Linked DNA regions of Homo sapiens: region 1 is linked to region 2. The links are contacts of gene promoters, found by promoter capture Hi-C in human tissues and cell types (Jung and others, 2019). All regions are on one chromosome and are shown on one strand. The core of a region is centred on a gene start or on the middle of the fragment in contact, and the rest is flanking DNA. Distances in the headings are between cores, read along the strand shown.

Region 1 (4,686 bases), core at 1,959-4,458, 140 kb after region 2:
GGGTGGTGAGTATTCTCATTCCCACAAAGCCTTGCCTTGGGATGCACTCACTTTCGATGAATTGTTTTCCACCTGGCACGCCTCCGTGCATTCCTTTTCCTGCTTTTGCAAGGGCTTGTTCTGTTAGTAAGATACTTTTCTCCACTATGGATTCTAATTTTGGAGCAGAACAATCACATCAGCAGAAAAATCACCTCATTTAAAGAGAACTCTGCATTGCCCCACCTGCACCCGCCCCCCACCCCCACTCCACCCAGGACATCATCCCTACAGAAAGTCCTAAAGTGCAGAAGTTTTGCTGAGGGCTCCAGCACTTCTCTCATAGGAAGTTGTGTGAGCCAGGACAGAAACCATGTATTGTGCAGGCTGCAACATCTACTATTGTGAAAACGTTGTGTGTGGGTGCAATGCACAATCCCATTTGTGCCTTTGTGTTCAGCTGTTTGAGTCTACCTGCTTCTCACCAGGCTTATCTCTGTGCGTGGAGGTGTGATGTGGGCCTGCAGCCAGAGACTTTTCTAGGTTGTTGATCTGGCATAGAGACAGAGACTTACTCAGGGGGTTTAGTTCCTGCCTGCTTGAGGTGACCTTGGCTGTCCCCTGAACTGCTGCCGCCGAAGTCTCCTGGGCTGTTGTGGTTGTCTCTGGGGGTGAAGCTGGTTCTGCTGGACCTGAGATCTCTTCATTAGGCTTAGCTGTGAATGCACAAATTGATGGATTTTAGCAAAGTGAAAGTGTTTGTTTCTTTTGGAATGGGTTGCAGGGCCCCAGGATACCTAATGTGTGCTGGGTGCCAGGATACAGAAGTGATATGGCTTAAACGCTGCCCCCTTAAGGGAGATAGCATTTCTGCATGCTGTGTGTCTCTTGGAATGCAGCGGGCAGGGTTGGGGAAGGATTTGGACTAGGGGATGGTGAGAATCGGGGAGCACTTCATAGAGAAGCTGGATCTTGAAGGCAGGATGTTAGCAGGAGAGGATGTACCAAAGGGGCTTCCCTGGGGGCAGGCAGTGAGTAAGAGGTCAGGCGAAGGCATGTGTGGGGAATGGAAACAAGTTCAATTTAGCTGATGTGGGTGCGACATAAAAGAGAGTCATGGAAAATGGGGTTGGAAAATGAGGTTAGAGGCCAGATAATGGTTATCTTGCTAAGGAATTGGGAGTAATGGGAGGTGTTTGCAGGTGAAGGTATTAATGCCATGTGAGACATTGCCCTTACCACTTAACCTCATGTTTCTCTCCCTTTTATTCACAATAACCTTTTCCCCATGCTCCCTATTGTCCTTGCCTCTCTGGGTCATCCTCTTTTGTCCTTAGCCTTGTACCATTTCAACCCATGCCACCTTCTTTATTATATTACCTGCCCCTCCCCATTACCACCAAGCACAGAATCCAGATCTCCTCCCACTGGCTTCTTCTCCCAGCCACCACTCACATCCCTAACTGTTAAACCTTCCCAACGAGGGCTAGGGCAGCAGGGAGAGGAGGACTCACAGGTCCCAGCTTCCTGGGCAGGATCAGCACCCGTCGAGTCAGAGGAGGCATCTTCTGCAATGGGGGAAACATGCCAGATGAGAGCAAGGACCGAACCGGACCTACTCGAGCCACCCTCCCCTCCCATTCCCAAAGCTTATCTCCTGGGAATGCTCATGGATAGAAGGGGATCAATTTCCCTTTGGGTTGGACATGCCCTTCCACCATATCAGCGGGTCTACTGGGGCACTCTCTGATGTTTAACTCCTGTGGCTTTTGAAATAACTTCCCCTCTGAGAAGTGTAATGTCTCTTGGAACAGTGCCTTCCTCCTGACTGGCCCCTGGCTTGGTAGGCTTCCCTGAGGTGTCTGTCATGGAGCTGGCCATGGTCAGAGGGGCTCAACCTCCTCTGTGGTGGAGGAGGACAGTATGTGGGGGTTATGGGGCCATATTTGAGCGATTTGCAGGATTGAGACCCCAGCCTTGATTCCCTTTATTCTTTCAACACAACATTTATGCAAAGCTCTGTGCCAAGAGATGGAGGTGCAGTGCTGAAGAGGGCAGACAAGACCCCTGCCCTGACAGAGCTTACATCTGTCCTTTTACGAAATTATTTAATGGCTGGTGTGACAGTGCTGGAAGGGAACGTGCAGCCTGGTGCGAGAAGGGCACATGGATCTGATTTGTTCCGCATGTGCATGGAAGGCCTTTTTGGGGAATTATATGTAAACTGAGATTTTCTAGATGAAAAATCATTGGCCAGGTGACATTAGAGTTGGTTGGGGGAAGGGGCCAGGGAGAGGGAAAGCATTCTAGACGAGGAAAGGACAAGAAGGAAGATCCTGATGTTCAAGGAACAGCAGGATCATCATGGCCCAAATAGTGCTTCTGTGGATCAAAAAAGGCATCCCAGCAGGGCACGGTGGCTCACGCCTGTAATTCCAACACTTTGGGAGGCCAAGGCAGTCGGATCACCTGAGGTCAGGAGTTCGAGACCAACCTGGCCAACATGGTGAAACACCGTCTCTACTAAAAATACAAAATTAGCTGGGCAAGGTGGCATGAGCCTGTAGTCCCAGCTACCCAGGAGGCTGAGGCAAGATAATCGCTGGAACCCAGGAGGTGGATGTTGCAGTGAGCAGAGATCGTGCCACTGCACTCCAGCCTGGGCAACAGAGGGAGACTCGGTCTCAAAAAAAAAAAAAAAAAAAAGGCATCCCTTCCTCCTAAGAGACACAGCCAGGGGCCAGGCTCACTGCTTGGCAAGTAGAGTGTCGGCCAGATTTTAGCTTCTACCACTCCTTGCCTGGGCACCCTCGTGTAGGGGACACCCTGCTCAACTACATGCAGGGGACACCAGAGAAGCCAGTGTAGCTGAGGCATAGTGGGTAAACAATGGTGTGTGAGGAGATGAGCTGGGAGGGCAGGCAGAGGCCAGAGAGTTCTGGGTTCCTCTGGCCAGTGGGGTGCAGAGGCCACGTGTGGAGAACTGGGAGAGGAGTCACTTGCAGAGGCAGGGAAACCAGAATAGCACTGAGAGAGGAGGAGAGGGGTGAAGGCAGGAGTGAGGGGCTCCTTGGACTGGGAGGACTCTTGTGGGGCGCAGAGGAAAGGCCATACTCACCAGCATAGACCAGGGCCCCTGCTACAGCTGCCAAGAAGAGGAGAGTGGTAAATTTCATTCTTTGGGATGAGGAGTGAGTATAACCACAGAATCTGCAGAAGGTCTGGGGAATAAGGATGCTGAAATTGCTGGGCCCTTTTAAGGATATCAAGGGCCAATGGGAACCAAGCCTGGAGAGGTGTGACTTCCGCATCCTCCTCCCCTTCTTCCCCAAACTGTCACCTGCTAAGTCAACAAGGGCTAGGTTGGGCTGGCTGATACCTGGGATCCTTGCAGGCAGGTCCTGGATAGGAGCCTTTCTCTAACTCCCAGCCATCCCTTTTCTTTCTCCCTCCTCCCTTCCCCACCACACCTGCCCTCTGGGTTCACACCCCTGGGCTCTCAGGGACGGTAGGTAGAGCACATTTCACTTGGGGAGATTCTGGGATGTGTCTGTTGAGGGTTCTGGTAGAGAAATCTTAATCTTGTCATCTCTCCAGGAGGAGGTTGAGGGCTCAGGGGATTACATTGTCCACCTTCTGTCCCAGTCTACATAGGACTCAGTGCAGGGTTTGAAGGTTTCCCCAAACTAAGTGAGCCCGTTTCCTTGGGAGACCACACCTAGAACACTTGAGGCCTGAGTTCCTGGCTGCTTTCTCCCCATGAGGGGATGGGTTTGAAGGCGTGTGTGCCTTCTCTGGAGTTGTTCTCTGTTCTTGACATTATCCAGCCCCTAAAAAGAACTCCTCCAGGCTCACATAGGCCTGTCAATCTCTGTCTTCAGGCCTACTCAATGGGACCCCACATTTCTGAGAGAATCTCCTGGTCAAAGCATGATGGTGGTTCACTGAAATTGGAGCTTGGTTCTGACTTCAAGTGGGGAGCTGACCCATGGTGTGAATAATCCAGAAAAGCAGATTATTCTAAAGAAGCTTCTCTTTGACTTGGCGTTTCTTCCTTTCCTGATCTGGGACTCTAGAGGTCTGGATTTTGAGTTCTGGCTTTGTCATATGAAAATGTTAGGATTTGAAAAGTGATAGGATTTTTATTTGTTGTCTAGGAGTTGTGGCTCCTATGTACAGCATAGTGGTGGAGATTAAGTGGGATAATATACGGCAAAGCATTTTTTTAGACAGCGAAGTTCTATGGAGTTGTGTGGGGTTCTTGTACCATCTTTCCAAGTAGGTTTTTGTCCAGGCTGGTGCTAAATGCTAGATATTAATAGAACGGGCCGTGGAGCAGGAGTCAGTTGAGGGGCTGAAGGGTGGAGAATAAGGTGCTGGATGTCAATTTGTGACTTTCCCCTTGCTTGGTGTTGGCATTCACCCAGCCCCATGTGGGCTGATTCCGGAGGCTTCTCTGCCTCATGGTAGCTCTGAAGATGAGTGTGAGAAGGGGGTATTGAAGAGTTTTCAACATGAGGGTGTTTTGGGTGCCAGGGTTTAGAACATTAATCTTTTCAGGAGATAAAGGAAGATAAAATTAATGGGGTGGGACATTAAAGCCTTGGCAATTGCTACCTGCCTGAGGGTCTGGGCCTGGGAGCCTTGAAGGTGGTGGTGGCCTTACCTGGAATGGGGAAGGCTGAAGAACAAGAGAAAGTTTTGATG
Region 2 (4,864 bases), core at 1,193-3,692:
GCTTCTTTTAAAAATACATTCTCTTTGGAGCATGGATGTTAAGTTTCTTTTTAAAATTAAAAAACATTTAGATTCAGGGGATACACATGCAGGTTTGTTACATGGGTATATTGTGTGATGCTGAGATTTGGGCTTCTAATGAACCCATCACCCATGCCCAAATAGTGAACACAGTACTCAAGTTTTTTTTTCTTTCTTGCCTTTATTTATTTATTTATTTATTTATTTATTTATTTAGAGACATAGTCTTGCTCTATCGACCAGGCTGGAGTGCGGTGTTGAACTCCTGGGCTCAAGCGACCATCCCACCTCAGCCTCCTGAGGAGCTGGGCCTACAGCCATGTACCACCACACCAGGCTAATTTATTTTATTTTATCTGTAGAGGGGTGGGGGAAGGTCTCACAATGTTGCCTAGGCTGGTCTTGAACTCCTGGCTTCAAGCAATCCTTCTACCTTTGCCTCCCAAAGTGCTGGGATTATAAGCATGAGCCACTTCACCTGGCCCCAACTTCTTAAGTAATAATGCTGATCAGCCTTGTCTCTCTTCTCCCACTCCCTAGAATTTATTGGGACAATGGGAACTCTGGATACGGAAAATGGGAATGATTAAAAACCTGAGAAAAGGAATTGGCAAGGTGGTGGAAATGAAGAGAACTCTTTTTGATTTATAATTTTTCCTAGGACCTTTTGCTTTGTGTCTTGAAAGAAAGTTGAAATAGAGTTGAAAATTTTCTTGAGTTACGGAGTTAAGGCCTCATTGGAATGGCAAGAATATTTTAATGCTAAAATTCATTCAAGTCTCTAAGATTTAAGGGTGATTACTAATTTCCTCTTTTTAATCTTGATTAATTTGGTTCTTCTTCATGGGGCCTATTTCCTAATTTAGTCTTAATAATTCAACAAATAAACCAGCATATTTATTGAGTGACTACTGTGTCCAAGAGGTATTGTTCTAGATCAGTGTTTTTCAGAATGGAATATTTGTACCAAAACCTCCTACAACAGTGCTTATATAAGTACAGACTTCTAGGCCCCACAACAGACTCGCCTACCTACCAATGCTAATCTCAGAGGACAGGGATTGATCTGTTTCTCAAGCATCCATAAATACCATGGTACTAGAGCACTGGTTCTCAAACTTGAGTGTGCATTGGAATCACCTGGAGGGTTTGTTAAAACACAGAGTGCCTGGACCCACCCCAGAATTTTGGATTCAGTGGTCTGGGGCGGGTCCTAAGAATTTGCATCTCTAACAAGTTTCCAGGTGATGCTGATGCTGCTGGATCACATTTTGAGAATTACTATGTACTTCTTGAGAACTACTTTGAGAATTATTATGTACTGTAGAAGTACAATGCACTGTAGTAGAGCATTGTGAGAAATATAAAAAAGTATTAGAGGCCGGGTGTGGTGGCTCATGCCTGTAATTCCAGTACTTTGGGAGGCTGTGGCGGGTAAATCACCTGAGGTCAGGAGTTCGAGAGCAGCCTGGCCAACACGGTGAAACCCCATGTCTACTAAAAATACAAAAATTAGCAAGGCGTGGTGGTGGGCACCTGTAACCACAGCTACTCCAGAGGCTGAGGCTGGAGAATTGCTTGAGCCCAGGAGGTGGAGGTTGTAGTGAGCAGAGATCATGCCATTGCACTCCAGCCTGGGCAACAAGAGTGGAACTCTGTTTCAAAAAAAAAAAAAAAAAGAAAAAAAAGTATTAGGTACAATTCCTGTCATTAAGGAGCTTATGCTGTAGTTGGGGGAGATACAACGTACACTATAAACATATAACAAGGAATATATGTATTTGACAATATAAAATATAATACAATATAATATTTGACATTGATGGGGTCTTTAGGAGAAGATGGGATTTGATCTGGGTACTAAAACATGATGAGGCCAAAGGTTCATAGGCATTCTTGGATATAAAAGAAGGAAAATATAGAGGTGTACAGGGGTGGGGTGGTAGATACTTGTTTATCTAGCTTACAGCTTTTAATTTTTATTTTTTATAGAGATGGGGTCTTGCTATGTTGCCCAGGCTGGTCTGGAACTCCTGAGCTCAATGGATCTTCCCACCTTTTCCTCCCAAAGTGCTGGGATTACAGGTGTGAGCCACCACGCCCAGCTTTGTCTAGGACACTTATGGGGGCATAAGACCAAAAAGGTTGGTGCAGTCTGTGAAGAGCCTTGAAAGCCTGTCCTTCTCCTCAGCTCCACCCACTTCATAGCCTTACCAAAAGTGCTGCACAGCCAGAAAGAGGAAGTCTCCCCTGCTGAGTGTGCAAGAGGAAGCACAAGAAGGCTCTGAGGGCCTGTGAGCCATAATGACTGATTTCACCCATGAGCCAATTGCAGAGGCAACAGAAGACCAGTGCACCAACCAGGCTGGGTCCCTCCGCCAGAGGGTGTCACCATCTAAGCTGAAAGTGTTTGGGGAGATCAGACATTGCTGTCTGGTGCTCCTCTCTCAGTGGCCATCATGTCTTTGACATCTGCTTACCAGCATAAATTAGCAGAGAAGCTCACTATCCTGAATGATCGCGGTCAGGGGGTTCTCATCCGTATGTATAACATCAAGAAGGTAAGCATGAACAATGGGACTAGTACTGATTATTCCAACAATAATAGGGCAGGGAACCCTGAGGCGGCAGGTGCAGCAGTTAGACTCCCACCTTTTTTTCCACTGCTTTTCCACTGACTATAATCTACATAATCACTCAGATTATACAGGCCAGCCAGTTCAGGAAGGCAGAAGTGGAGGCTTCTTTTCAAGGCTTCCCCTTTCTAGATATGATTCTTGCCCCAACGATGGCATCTGCTTTCCTCTGGGGATGGGGGTGAGGGTGGGGATGGGGAAACAACAGTGGTATTCCAAGTGACTTGGATAAAGGTCTGGGGTCCAACCTTCTGGGTTTTATTATTTATTGTTGATCCTCTACACTCTGAAGAGATCTGAAGCTGGGTCTCTGGCAAAAACTTTTCTGTGGAAGTGCTTCCCTAAAAGGAAAAAAAATAGATAATTAGGTATTTAGATTAAAAAGGGTAGGTGTCTTCTGAGCTGCTCCTGGGGTAGTTCATGCTGTGGTGGTTGTGTGTGTGTGTGTGTGTGTGTGTGTGTGTGTGTTTAGAATAGGAACTGAGGAATTGAAAGAAGCTAGTGACAAGAGGTGGGCTAGGGGCTGGGCAAACCATAGGAAGTAAAGAGATAAAGACAGGGGTGTTTATGGGGAGTTCCTGGCATAGAAAATAGGGGACTTTGGGGGAGGGAGCTTTTGTGTTTTTTGTAATAAAACAAATCACCAGGAACACGGTTTCTCTGTCACCATGAATCCTGTAAATGCCCTTTGGGATAAGATACTTACATAGTGAACAAAATTGTGACACTGAATCTTGTACAAAGTCTAACTCCTGAGCAGCTGCTTTTCTTGTTCCTTCCGGCTTCAGTTGAGGGGCGGGGAAACAGCTTCCTCTTTGTGCTGGGGCCAAGCAGGCATTAAACTCTACCCATCAAGACAAAATGCCTAGGTTGTTATTTCGCTCTTAGATACTTGGCTTAATGTCTTGGAATTTTTTCTTGACCTACTCTTATGCTTTTTATTTTTATATTTATTTATTTATTTATTTATTTATTTATTTTCGGAGTCTCGCTCTGTCGCCCAGGCTGGAGTGCAGTGGCACGATCTTGGCTCACTGCAACCTCCGCCTCCCGGGTTCAAGCGATTCTCCTGCCTCAGCCTCCCAAGTACCTGGGACTACAGTTGTGCACCACCATGCCCAGCTAATTTTTGTATTTTTAGTAGAGACGGGGTTTCACCATGTTGGCCAGGCTGGTCTCGAACTTCTGACCTTGTGATCTGCCTGCCTCGGCCTCCCGAAGTGCTGGGATTACAGGTGTGAGCCGCTGCGCCCAGCCTCTCATGCTTTTTAAATTAGTTCCCAGGTTGCCTTTTCCTAAGACAGATTATGAGAATGAATGTTGCAAGAAGAGGTATGTTTCTGAGGAGGAGGAGAAAGGGTTGAAATATATATGGTTTCTCTCTGCAGACTTGTTCAGACCCCAAATCTAAGCCACCTTTCTTACTGGAAAAGTCCATGGAACCATCTCTCAAGTATATCAACAAGAAATTTCCCAACATAGATGTCCGAAACAGCACGGTGAGAACTTGGTCCTTCTCTCCTTTCTCTGAATAATTCTCTGCTTGAATGGCTGAAATTCTCCTCTTTTGATGCCTCTCTTCAAACTTGGCAGGGGATGGAGTAGTCTTTTTTTATTAATAGTTTTCCAAGGCTCAACCACAGGGCTTCAGGTTGTTGTAGAGCTTTAAGTCTTGAGCATTTTGAGATAAGATGGGATTCTTCCAGCATAAGCTGGAGCGAATCATCACCCCTTTTCCATTGCAAGATTCATGGGAAAACATTGTTTTTGTACAAGACAGCTCTATCAACCCAGCAGGGTACATGTATTTTATTGTTTCTGTTTCCCACTCACTGTTTCCTTGCTGTTTGTCTTAGATTTCTGCATCTAATGGGATATCTCTACTTTTCCCTTATTAAATGTTAACCCTAGATTTTTCACCCATCTTTGTAGCATCTTTGAATTCTGTTTCTTTTGACTTTGATATAAATAGTATATCTGTTCATCTGAAAGGGTGCTTAAAATTTCCTCTCATTTAGCCCTCTGTATCTAGTCAGGATCACATGCAACCATTCTACCTAGATAGACAATCTCCTTTGTTTAAAGACCTTCAGAGCACTGAAGCGTTTCTAACTTCCTCTGTCAGTATATTTCAACTCTCTTTCTTTTTCTTTTCTTTTCTTTTTTTTTTTTTTTGAGATGGAGTCTTGCTCTGTCACCCAGGCTGG

Evidence for each region. Contacts are between HindIII fragments. The study calls those that stand out against the background at their distance.
Region 1: the fragment with the promoter of LACRT here is called in contact with the fragment with the promoter of NCKAP1L in region 2 in 2 of the 25 tissues and cell types used here (mesendoderm cells and psoas muscle).

What each region holds. Positions count from the first base shown.
Region 1 is chr12:54,631,687-54,636,372 of GRCh38, forward strand. LACRT (lacritin) reads right to left here and starts at 3,209. Exons shown (of 5, transcript NM_033277.2): 1 at 3,098-3,209; 2 at 1,494-1,547; 3 at 555-695; 4 at 52-153. The coding sequence starts at 3,155. The HindIII fragment of the contact is 5,914 bases long and covers 1-4,686 here.
Region 2 is chr12:54,495,310-54,500,173 of GRCh38, forward strand. NCKAP1L (NCK associated protein 1 like) reads left to right here and starts at 2,443. Exons shown (of 31, transcript NM_005337.5): 1 at 2,443-2,582; 2 at 4,046-4,156. The coding sequence starts at 2,481. RefSeq lists enhancers at 2,405-2,464, 2,575-2,634. The HindIII fragment of the contact is 19,249 bases long and covers 1-4,864 here.